Linked DNA regions of Homo sapiens: all the other regions are linked to region 1. Evidence: promoter capture Hi-C in 16 types of primary human blood cells and fetal thymus (Javierre and others, 2016). All regions are on one chromosome and are shown on one strand. Each heading gives the region's core, a stretch centred on a gene start or on the middle of the fragment in contact. The rest is flanking DNA. Distances are from core to core; before and after follow the strand shown. Region 1 holds the start of HSD11B2 (hydroxysteroid 11-beta dehydrogenase 2). Region 2 has its middle 9.5 kb from the start of TMEM208. Region 3 overlaps KCTD19 (potassium channel tetramerization domain containing 19).

The links. Contacts are between HindIII fragments. The CHiCAGO score rates a contact against its expected background, and 5 or more counts as called.
Region 2: a fragment that was not itself captured here is called in contact with the fragment with the promoter of HSD11B2 in region 1 in 3 of 17 cell types (endothelial precursors, megakaryocytes and M1 macrophages); the score reaches 5.9 in endothelial precursors.
Region 3: a fragment that was not itself captured here is called in contact with the fragment with the promoter of HSD11B2 in region 1 in 2 of 17 cell types (endothelial precursors and M1 macrophages); the score reaches 5.7 in endothelial precursors.

The regions. Positions count from the first base shown.
Region 1 is chr16:67,429,708-67,432,545 of GRCh38, forward strand. It overlaps HSD11B2 (hydroxysteroid 11-beta dehydrogenase 2), which reads left to right and starts at 1,414. Exons shown (of 5, transcript NM_000196.4): 1 at 1,414-1,806. The coding sequence starts at 1,542. RefSeq lists silencers at 1,083-1,132, 1,353-1,532. The HindIII fragment of the contact is 16,145 bases long and covers 1-2,838 here.
Region 2 is chr16:67,216,174-67,219,011 of GRCh38, forward strand. It overlaps the pseudogene FBXL9P. Among named protein-coding and RNA genes, the nearest start is that of TMEM208, 9.5 kb to the right of the region's middle. The HindIII fragment of the contact is 798 bases long and covers 1,084-1,881 here.
Region 3 is chr16:67,294,584-67,297,421 of GRCh38, forward strand. It overlaps KCTD19 (potassium channel tetramerization domain containing 19), which reads right to left. Exons shown (of 16, transcript NM_001100915.3): 8 at 1,576-1,676; 9 at 680-822; 10 at 390-473; 11 at 1-111. Among named protein-coding and RNA genes, the nearest start is that of PLEKHG4, 16 kb to the left of the region's middle. The HindIII fragment of the contact is 2,833 bases long and covers 72-2,838 here.

The sequences.
Region 1 (2,838 bases), core at 164-2,663:
AGGGATAGGTGGAGGCACAGGAGTGGCTCAGGGCAAATTGGTCCTCCACCCAGAGACTCTCCCTTTAGGTGGGTCTGGCTCCCAGCCTCCCCTGAGATTTCCCTGGCTCACCAGGGGGCTGTGTCTGGTGGCAGAGAGGGCTTTGGAGGAGGCATTGCCCTGAAACCCTGGCAGAGCCTGGGCACCTAAGAGAGAATGAGCAACAGGGCTAGGAAGTGTGACAGGGAGTCCACAACCTCCCAGGATCTTGGGAGGGCAGGGATGAGGCACTGAGCACGGCCTGGAAGCCCACGGGAAGCAGGGACCCCTCTGTCGAGGGCTACACCTACTGCTCTCAGCATCAAGCCTGCAGCCAGGTACTGGCACCAACTCCCAGTGCCTGGCAGAGCCCTGGCATGGATGCTAGGCACAGGGTGCCAGACACGGGGGTGGGCAGGGTGGGGGGCCACTGGGCCACACACAAGCATGGAGACCTTCACACACGCAGGCAGAAAAATCCACCCACACTCATACCACTTATTTTACCCCCTGGGGGTTCAGGGGAGCAAGGCAGGGACCACCCTGTCCTAGAGGCTGCCTTCACCGACGTCCCTCTGGCCTGGCTCTTGGGGTTGGCGGGGGTGGGCCATAAGTAATGGGAGACCTAGGTGCTTCCTCTGACACCCCACCCTCCACTGACCCCCACACACATACATTTGTGAGGCAGGAAGTGGGGTTGTGCGTCCCCAGGTTTAAGCCCTGGAAGGAAAGGGAAAGACGGGGCAGAGACTCCAAGAACCGGGAGCGGTCGTCCTGTTCCCCCGCCAGCCCCTGTCCCAGGCAGGTTTTGTGGCCGCGAGCTGCTCAGGGGTGAGCGCGCCTTAGGGTGTGTGCGCCAGGGACCTGGCGCAGCCGACCACGTGGGAGTGCGGCGCGTGTACGGGCGCGGGCGGCAGCGGCAGCGGCAGCGGAGACCGGGTGAGCACCGGCTGGTTCCTCGCGGTGTTCCTGCAGGCTTGGCGGCCGCGGTGGTGCGATCAGCAAAGGGCACCGGGATGCCGGTTGTGCGTGTCCTCAGGTGTCCCGAACAAGCGTGAGTGGCATGTGCTCACCTGAGCGCGGCGGCTTGGCGGCCCCGGGCGTGTGGGTGGGGGCGCGGCGGAGAGCTGAGGCCGGGCACCCGGGCTGGACCGACGGGCCCTCTCCCAAGCACCGCCCGCAGCCAGGCGGCTCCTCGAGCGCAGCAACTTTGGGACTTTGTTCCGGCTTTTTCCAAATCGAATCTGGTCGAGGGGGCGGGGCGGGGGGGGAGCACCTGCCCTGCGGGGGGTGCCGGGAGAGAAGTGAAGGAAAGCCCCGCCCCCGCCCCTCCCGCTCCCCGCCCTCTCCCCCGCCCCCGGGGCTCTTCATAAGCTCGGCCCGAGGGCGAGCAGAGAAAGCGAGTGTCCCTCTCGCGCCCCAGGCCGGTGTACCCCCGCACTCCGCGCCCCGGCCTAGAAGCTCTCTCTCCCCGCTCCCCGGCCCGGCCCCCGCCCCGCCCCGCCCCAGCCCGCTGGGCCGCCATGGAGCGCTGGCCTTGGCCGTCGGGCGGCGCCTGGCTGCTCGTGGCTGCCCGCGCGCTGCTGCAGCTGCTGCGCTCAGACCTGCGTCTGGGCCGCCCGCTGCTGGCGGCGCTGGCGCTGCTGGCCGCGCTCGACTGGCTGTGCCAGCGCCTGCTGCCCCCGCCGGCCGCACTCGCCGTGCTGGCCGCCGCCGGCTGGATCGCGTTGTCCCGCCTGGCGCGCCCGCAGCGCCTGCCGGTGGCCACTCGCGCGGTGCTCATCACCGGTGAGTGCGCGGGTCGCGGAGCGCGGGGACTCCAGGCTCGAGGGCGGGACTGGACACTCAACAGGACTGACTCCCCATGGGCACAGCCAAGGCGGGCTCCTCAGCGCAAGAGTGGGAGAGTTCTCCACCCCTGGGTGCAGGGAGCGAGCCAAATAGGGAGCGCCGGGCACCTCCCCAAGCCCGGGTTCACTACCTGCCGCTGCGGGGAGTGTTGGAGGGAAAGTGAGACAGGGAGTGGGCCGGTTCGAGAAGGAAACTGACTGGTGGCTGAGAAGAGGGAACCTCCTGGAGTTTGAGAGTTTATGCCATTCCCTTCCCCAAGAGAGCAGTCTCAGGGGACTTCGGAGGCCTTGAGAAGGGAGGATCGTTACCCCTTGAACTCTGCCTGACATCCCCACCTAAGATACCCATCTCCCATTCCTCGGGCCAGAGGGAAGAGCTTAGATGGGGAACTTCCCCACCCCACCCATCCCCCACTGGCTGGGATCCTTGGAGTTCAGAAAAGCTAGAGGTCACCGTGAGGGGCAGCTGGACATTCAGCTGTCTTTCTGTCTAGCCACCCACTGCCAAACTGCTGAGGCAGTAGTTTGGAGCCTACACCCAGCACCCCACCCCCAAGCCCTCCTGGTCCTCTGTGCCCAGGAAGGAGCTCTTAGAGAGCTGGGCTCAGGTGCCTCTGGCCGCCTAGCTGAGCTCCTTTGTCTGGAGCAGGGAATAAATCTGTCACCAGAGGGAGGGAAGGGGAAGGGGGGGGGGGGCTGGAGGCCCGCCGGAAGTGGGGAGGGGGAGAAAGGCCAGGGGGCACTGACTCCATTGCATCGTGGGAGGAGCAGCCTGGTCTCTCGCCAATACCCACGGCTTTGGACAGGTGCTCCAGGCTTTGTCCTTGCGCTGGGCCTTTGCTGGGGCAGCCAGCAACCTGGCTTCTCAGAGACCTCGGTCTAGTAGGGGCCCTGTGTGATCAGATGGGGCTGGGAGAATTTTCCGGAGGAGGAAATCCTTGAGTGGGGCCTTGGAGCATGAGTGGAGATA
Region 2 (2,838 bases), core at 233-2,732, 210 kb before region 1:
ACACCCCAGAGTCTTAAACTGCAACTAAAAGCCTCCTTTCATCCCGCACCCCTTCCTCTTGCCTCTCTTCTCTCCCCTTCCTCTACAGCCACGCTTCTTGGAAGCACACAGGCACAGGCATGCCTGCTGTCCCGCCACTCGTTGCCCCTCGCCTCACCTGCTCACCCCTCCACCCTGGCCCCCACAGGATCACGCATTCCTGGCAACAACTCCCCTCCAGCAAGGTCACCAACATGTGGGGGCTTCACCTCAGACCTCCCACAAGGGTTCTCTCTGCCATGTCACCTGCTCTGCATGGCCAGCAGCCACTCCCCTTGATGCCATCTCCACTGGGGTTCTGCAACTCTGCCCCCCTGGCTTTCCTCCTACCTTCTAGCCTGCTCTTCTTCAGGCTCTTTTGGGGTCAACAAAGAACAGAGATCCAGTCCACAGATGAGTGGGTTCCCCATGGTTTGTTCCACCCAAGAACACACACACGTGTGCACGTGCACATATGCACACGATCTTTGTGCCCCTCCGAGTGTACCCTGGCCAACTGCATTTTGCCCCATGGGGCCATCATTCCAACCACTGTCTTTCCGATCCACATGATGTTCCTGAACGCCAGACCCCGGGAGCCAAGTGCCTGACTGGCCTCTCTCCAGAGGGCACGATGCAGCATACCCAAATCTGAACTCATCATCTCATCCTCCAACTCTGCTCCTTCTAAACTCTCCCCACCCTCTATTGAGTCACCCAAGTGGGAAATTTGGGAGTGATTCTAGAATCCTCCCTCACTCCCCACATCCACAATGACCCAAGCCCCTTCCACTTTTGTTTCCCTGATACGGTGCAATCTGTCCCTCTGCTCCAACCTCACTGCTTCTGCCCTAGTTGAAGTCCCCATACTGTATGCCAGCAGCCCGAGAGCTGCTTCCTCTAAGCTCAGACCACGCCAGCTTCCTCCTTATCAGGTCCTGGCCTCCAGTTCCTCTGGCTCCAATCCATCCTGGGTTTTGTCACCATGTGACCCTTCCAAAAGGCGATTCTGCCTGTGCTCTCCAGACCCTCTGCCAGTTCCGCACGCCTCCAGGACACAGGCTAAGCTTCCTAAGCCTGCATTCAAGCCCTTCTAGGACCCAGGCCTGCTGCTTCAGCCAAGCTCTTCCCAAGCCCGTTCCCCTTCCTCCTAGTCCTGGCTCTGGGGCTGCCACTTCTGACCATTGTCCTGTACCGCACGCCTCTGCTCAGCTGCTTTTTCTGTTCTGGGGGGGTCCCACCCCTCACTGGCTCCTATTGGTCTATTTGGCAAATGTTTATTCCTCTCTCGAGTCTCAGGCCAAGCACCTCCTTCTCCATGGAGTCTTTTCTGATCTTTTCTCTGCACCCATGATGTGCCTCACACAGACTTCAAATGCAGCACCCCAGCCTCTTTTTACTCATCTGTACTCACTACACACTCCCCAGCCCTGTGCCTTCCTCAGTTTTGCCTCGCTGGTGCCCAGCACACTGCCCGGCACAGCAGAAACATTTGAGTAAGGCTGCCCACACCCTCTCTATGTGTCTCTGGTAATTTTCCATCTTCCTCCTGTCCTGTGACTGCTCCAACCCTCTCTGCTGAAGCCCTGGCCTCTATGTCTCTTTTTACTCTCCTGAGACAACCTGGTCTCCAAATCCACTGAGTGAAGGGGCCGCTGAGGAAGGAGATGCCTCTGAGGAACTTCTCTGCAAATAGCTCCATGTTTCCACCCCCACCTCTCTGCTTCCTCAGGAAGAGGTGACATCCTTTTTTTCACCAAACTGATGCTGAAAAAACAAAAAAGAAAAACACACACATACACACACAAAAAAACAAAAAAAAAAAAGGGAGAGGTGATATCCTCTCCATCCTATCCCAGATCAAGCTTGGTATGTGGAAGCCTGTCCCTGCCACCATCTTCTACACCTGACCTCTCTCCTCCCCGAATCTTCACCCCTCCTCTAGTGACTCCCTGAAGCATTTATTTATTTATTTAATTTATTTATTTACTTTTTTTTTTTTTGAGACAGAGTCTCACTCTGTCACCCAGGCTGGAGTGCAGTGGCACGATCTCAGTTCACTGCAACCTCCACCTTCCAGGTTCAAGCGATTCTCTGCCTTAGCCTCCTGAGTAGCTGGGATTACAGGCACCTGCCACCATGCCCGGCTAATTTTTTGTATTTTTAGTAGAGACGGGGTTTCACCATCTTGGCCAGGATGGTCTTGAACTCCTGACCATGTGATCCACCCACCTTGGCCTCCCAAAGTGCTGGGATTATAGGTGTGAGCCACTGCACGCGGCCTCTTTTTTTTTTTTTTTCCTTTTTTTTTTGAGATGGAGTCTTGCCCAGACTGGCTGGAGTGCAGTGGTGCAATCTCGGCTCACTGCAAGCTCCGCTTCCTGGGTTCATGCCATTCTCCTGCCTCAGCCTCCTGAGTAGCTGGGACTACAGGCGCCCACCACCACGCCCAGCTAATTTTTTGTATTTTTTTTTTTTTTTTTAGTAGAGATGGGGTTTCACCGTGTTAGCCAGGATGGGTTTTTCGTTGTTTTTTTTTGAAATGGAGTCTTGCTCTGTTGCCCAGGCTGGAGTGCAGTGACATGATCTCAGCTCACTGCAAGCCCCACCTCCCAGGTTCAAGTGATTCTCCTGCCTCAGCCTCCCGAAGAGCTGTGATTACAGGCATTCGCCACCATGCCCAGCTAATTTTTGTATTTTTAGTAGAGATGGGGTTTCACCATGTTGGCCAGGGTGGTCTCGAACTCCTGACCTCAATTGATCTACCAGCATTGGCCTCCCAAAGTGCTGGGATTACAGGCTTGTGTCACTGCACCGGGC
Region 3 (2,838 bases), core at 238-2,737, 140 kb before region 1:
TTAGTGTCTCTACTGAACTCCACCAGTGACCCTGGCCCTTCTGTCACCACATGCAGCCTCCTGATGGAAAAAGCTTCTTCATTTTCAGATTCTTTCTCCTGAGTCCATGACCTGCAGAAACCAAGAGGGGTTGGTTAGTGAGTAGAGACTTCCATCAGGCCATTGGCCAGTTGGTCAGATCTGCTCTTTGGCTGGGAGTTAATGCTAGACAGCAGGGAAGAAGGGGCTCTTAAAGGGTTTTGCCTAGGTCACTGGCCAATCCTGGGCCTGCTTCACTCCCTCAACCCCAAGGAGATCAGGATCCTCTAGGAGTAGGACTTAGGACAGGATTTCAAGAGGAATTTAAAGGACCAAATTCTAAACATAGAGTCGTGATAAAGTTTTCTTACTTGTATGCTTCACATTGTGCAAGGGCTTCTGAGAGGGATGGAATGTGGTATTCCTCCACCTCCTGGCAGAAGAGGGGCCATTCCCTGCAAACAACAAGGAGATATCCAGCTGGGCAGCTAGGATGAGGGTGTGGGAGGGAGCATGAGCTCCTGGAACTGCCGCTGCCAACAGTTCCCACGATGGAAATAAAATAACCTCCTCCCTGAAGGCTGCAACTCAGGTCTCCTTTGTTGCTAAGGGAGGGGTCAGCCTTCGTGATTTCATCTTACTGCGTCCTTGCTTCACTTACTTAAATTCAGATGGTAAAAACAGTTTGCCAAGTCTCAGGAAGTTGAGAATGTGTCGGAACATCTGGCCATCCCCGTGGATGAGCAGGGTTTGTCCATATGTGATCCAGTACACTCTCTGAGGGTTGGACAGCAGTTCTGGATACTGGAGGGGGTTGGACACCGGACTCAGTCTCAGAGGCTAGGTCTTTGCGAAGGGGCAGGTCAATCTTCTCTCACTCCCCTTTTCCAACTACACTAGAGCAGAGGCTTTGAGATTCCATTTCCCTGTCTTGTCAGTCACAAGGAACCATGGTGGGGAGCAGAGCTTCCAGGGAGAAGCACATCATCCCTGCTTCAACTTTTGATGGCCCCTAGACCACCCTCTCAAGGCATTTGGAAGCCCACCGTACCTCCTTCTCAGTCCAGGTCCCTCAGAGCTGGCCCCCTCCCTATGCAAACTCTGGAGGGCCTTCCCAGCAGGCCACTCGGTCCACTTGTGCTCTGTTTTGTTTTGTTTTTTGAGGCAGAGTCACACTCCGTCACCCAGGTTGGAGTGCAGTGGCGCGATCTCAGCTCACTGCAACTTCTATCTCCTGGGTTCAAACAATTCTGGTGCTTCAGCCTCCCAAGTATCTGGGATTACAGGCACGTGCCATCACACCCAGCTAATTTTTGTATTTTTAGTACAGACGGGGTTTCACCATGTTGGTCAGGCTGGTCTTGAACTCCTGATCTCGTGATCTGCCCACCTCAGCCTCCCAAAGTGCTGGGATTACAGGCATGAGCCACCGTGCCTGGCGGGAAAGCCTTTGTTCTAAGCAAGTGCTGGAAGCTGTGTGAGGGCCAGGTGATGGCCCCCAGAGCAGCTCAGGTGGTGATGCCAGATGGGGAGCAGGGCAGCCGAGGCCGTCAGTACCTTCAGCAGTGTCTGCAGGGTGGTTGCGTACCAGTGGCTTCCAACATACACTTTGATGATCTGTTGTGGGGAATACACAGTGATCTCTGCCGTCCACTCATCTATGGGAATCCAGGAGATAGAACACATCATCATATGGCCAGAAGGGAAAGCAGGTAGGGCCCTTTGGTTAGTAGTGTATTTCACGTTAAGTCTCAATATCTTTCCTCAGTCATATTGTGTTGCCTAGTCTGAGAAGCAGCAGAAATCCCTGACATAAACCTTGCTTGCTGCAAGGTTTCCTGGGTGGTGAGGCGGGAAAGGGCACTGCCCCTCTTCACCTGACCCTCCTCCCTCAGGAAAGCTGGGTTGATGACCCTGTCCACCTACAATGCCAGCTGCCTCCGGTTTCTGGTTGGGTGTGTCCTGAGTGTGTAGCTTTTCATGTGGCCACTCAGACTGAAGCTAGGAATCTCTCTCTGTGTGTTTATGTTCGTGGTTTGGCAAATGTCATGGAGCCAACTCTCATCAAATCCCTGTCACTTTTATGAGACTAAGCCTCTAGGCATGTCTGGAGAATGGGGGCTGTATGCTGGAAAGATGAACCCATAACCCTTTTCCTGGAGATGACTATATGTAGGCCTTGTTCTGATGTTTGGGAAGCAGTTTCTAATGAGCTCTGTAATGAATGAAGGGTATATAACTAGATTATATAACCAAGAGATAAGATGTATAGAACTAGACCGTGAACTCCAGGAAGAAAGGGACTAAGTCTGTGTTGCTTACTTCTGTGCCGCCAGTGTCTACTGCTGTCCTGGTATATGACCGGTACTCAATAAATGTTGGATGCTGCTAAATGATAGTAATACAGCTTAAACTTTGTCCCCCAAATTTTTGGTAATAAGAAGTTATAGGCAGCTGGTGAAAACAACATTAGCTTTGGACTCAGTCAAACCCCAGCTTGACCACTGTGTAACTTGAGTGAGTTTTCTTCTCTGAACCTATTTTTTGGCTGTTAAATGGACCCAGGGACAGCTCTGTTTAACAGAGGAGGCTCCTCCCTGCATGGCTGTGAGAAGCACAGCAAGTCAGCTCCCAGGGTCAAGGCAGGCCTGCCCTGGGGGTCCTGCGTGGCCCCAGACTGGGTAACAGCCCTGTCTGCTGCTGGAGACGAATTGTGGGCTTGGAGGTGAGGAGGGAGCACTTAATATGAAAGTTTCCCTTTTGTAAAAATCCAAAATATTGGCCTGGCTTTCCCCTCCTCCTCCATCTACAGTTCCTCGT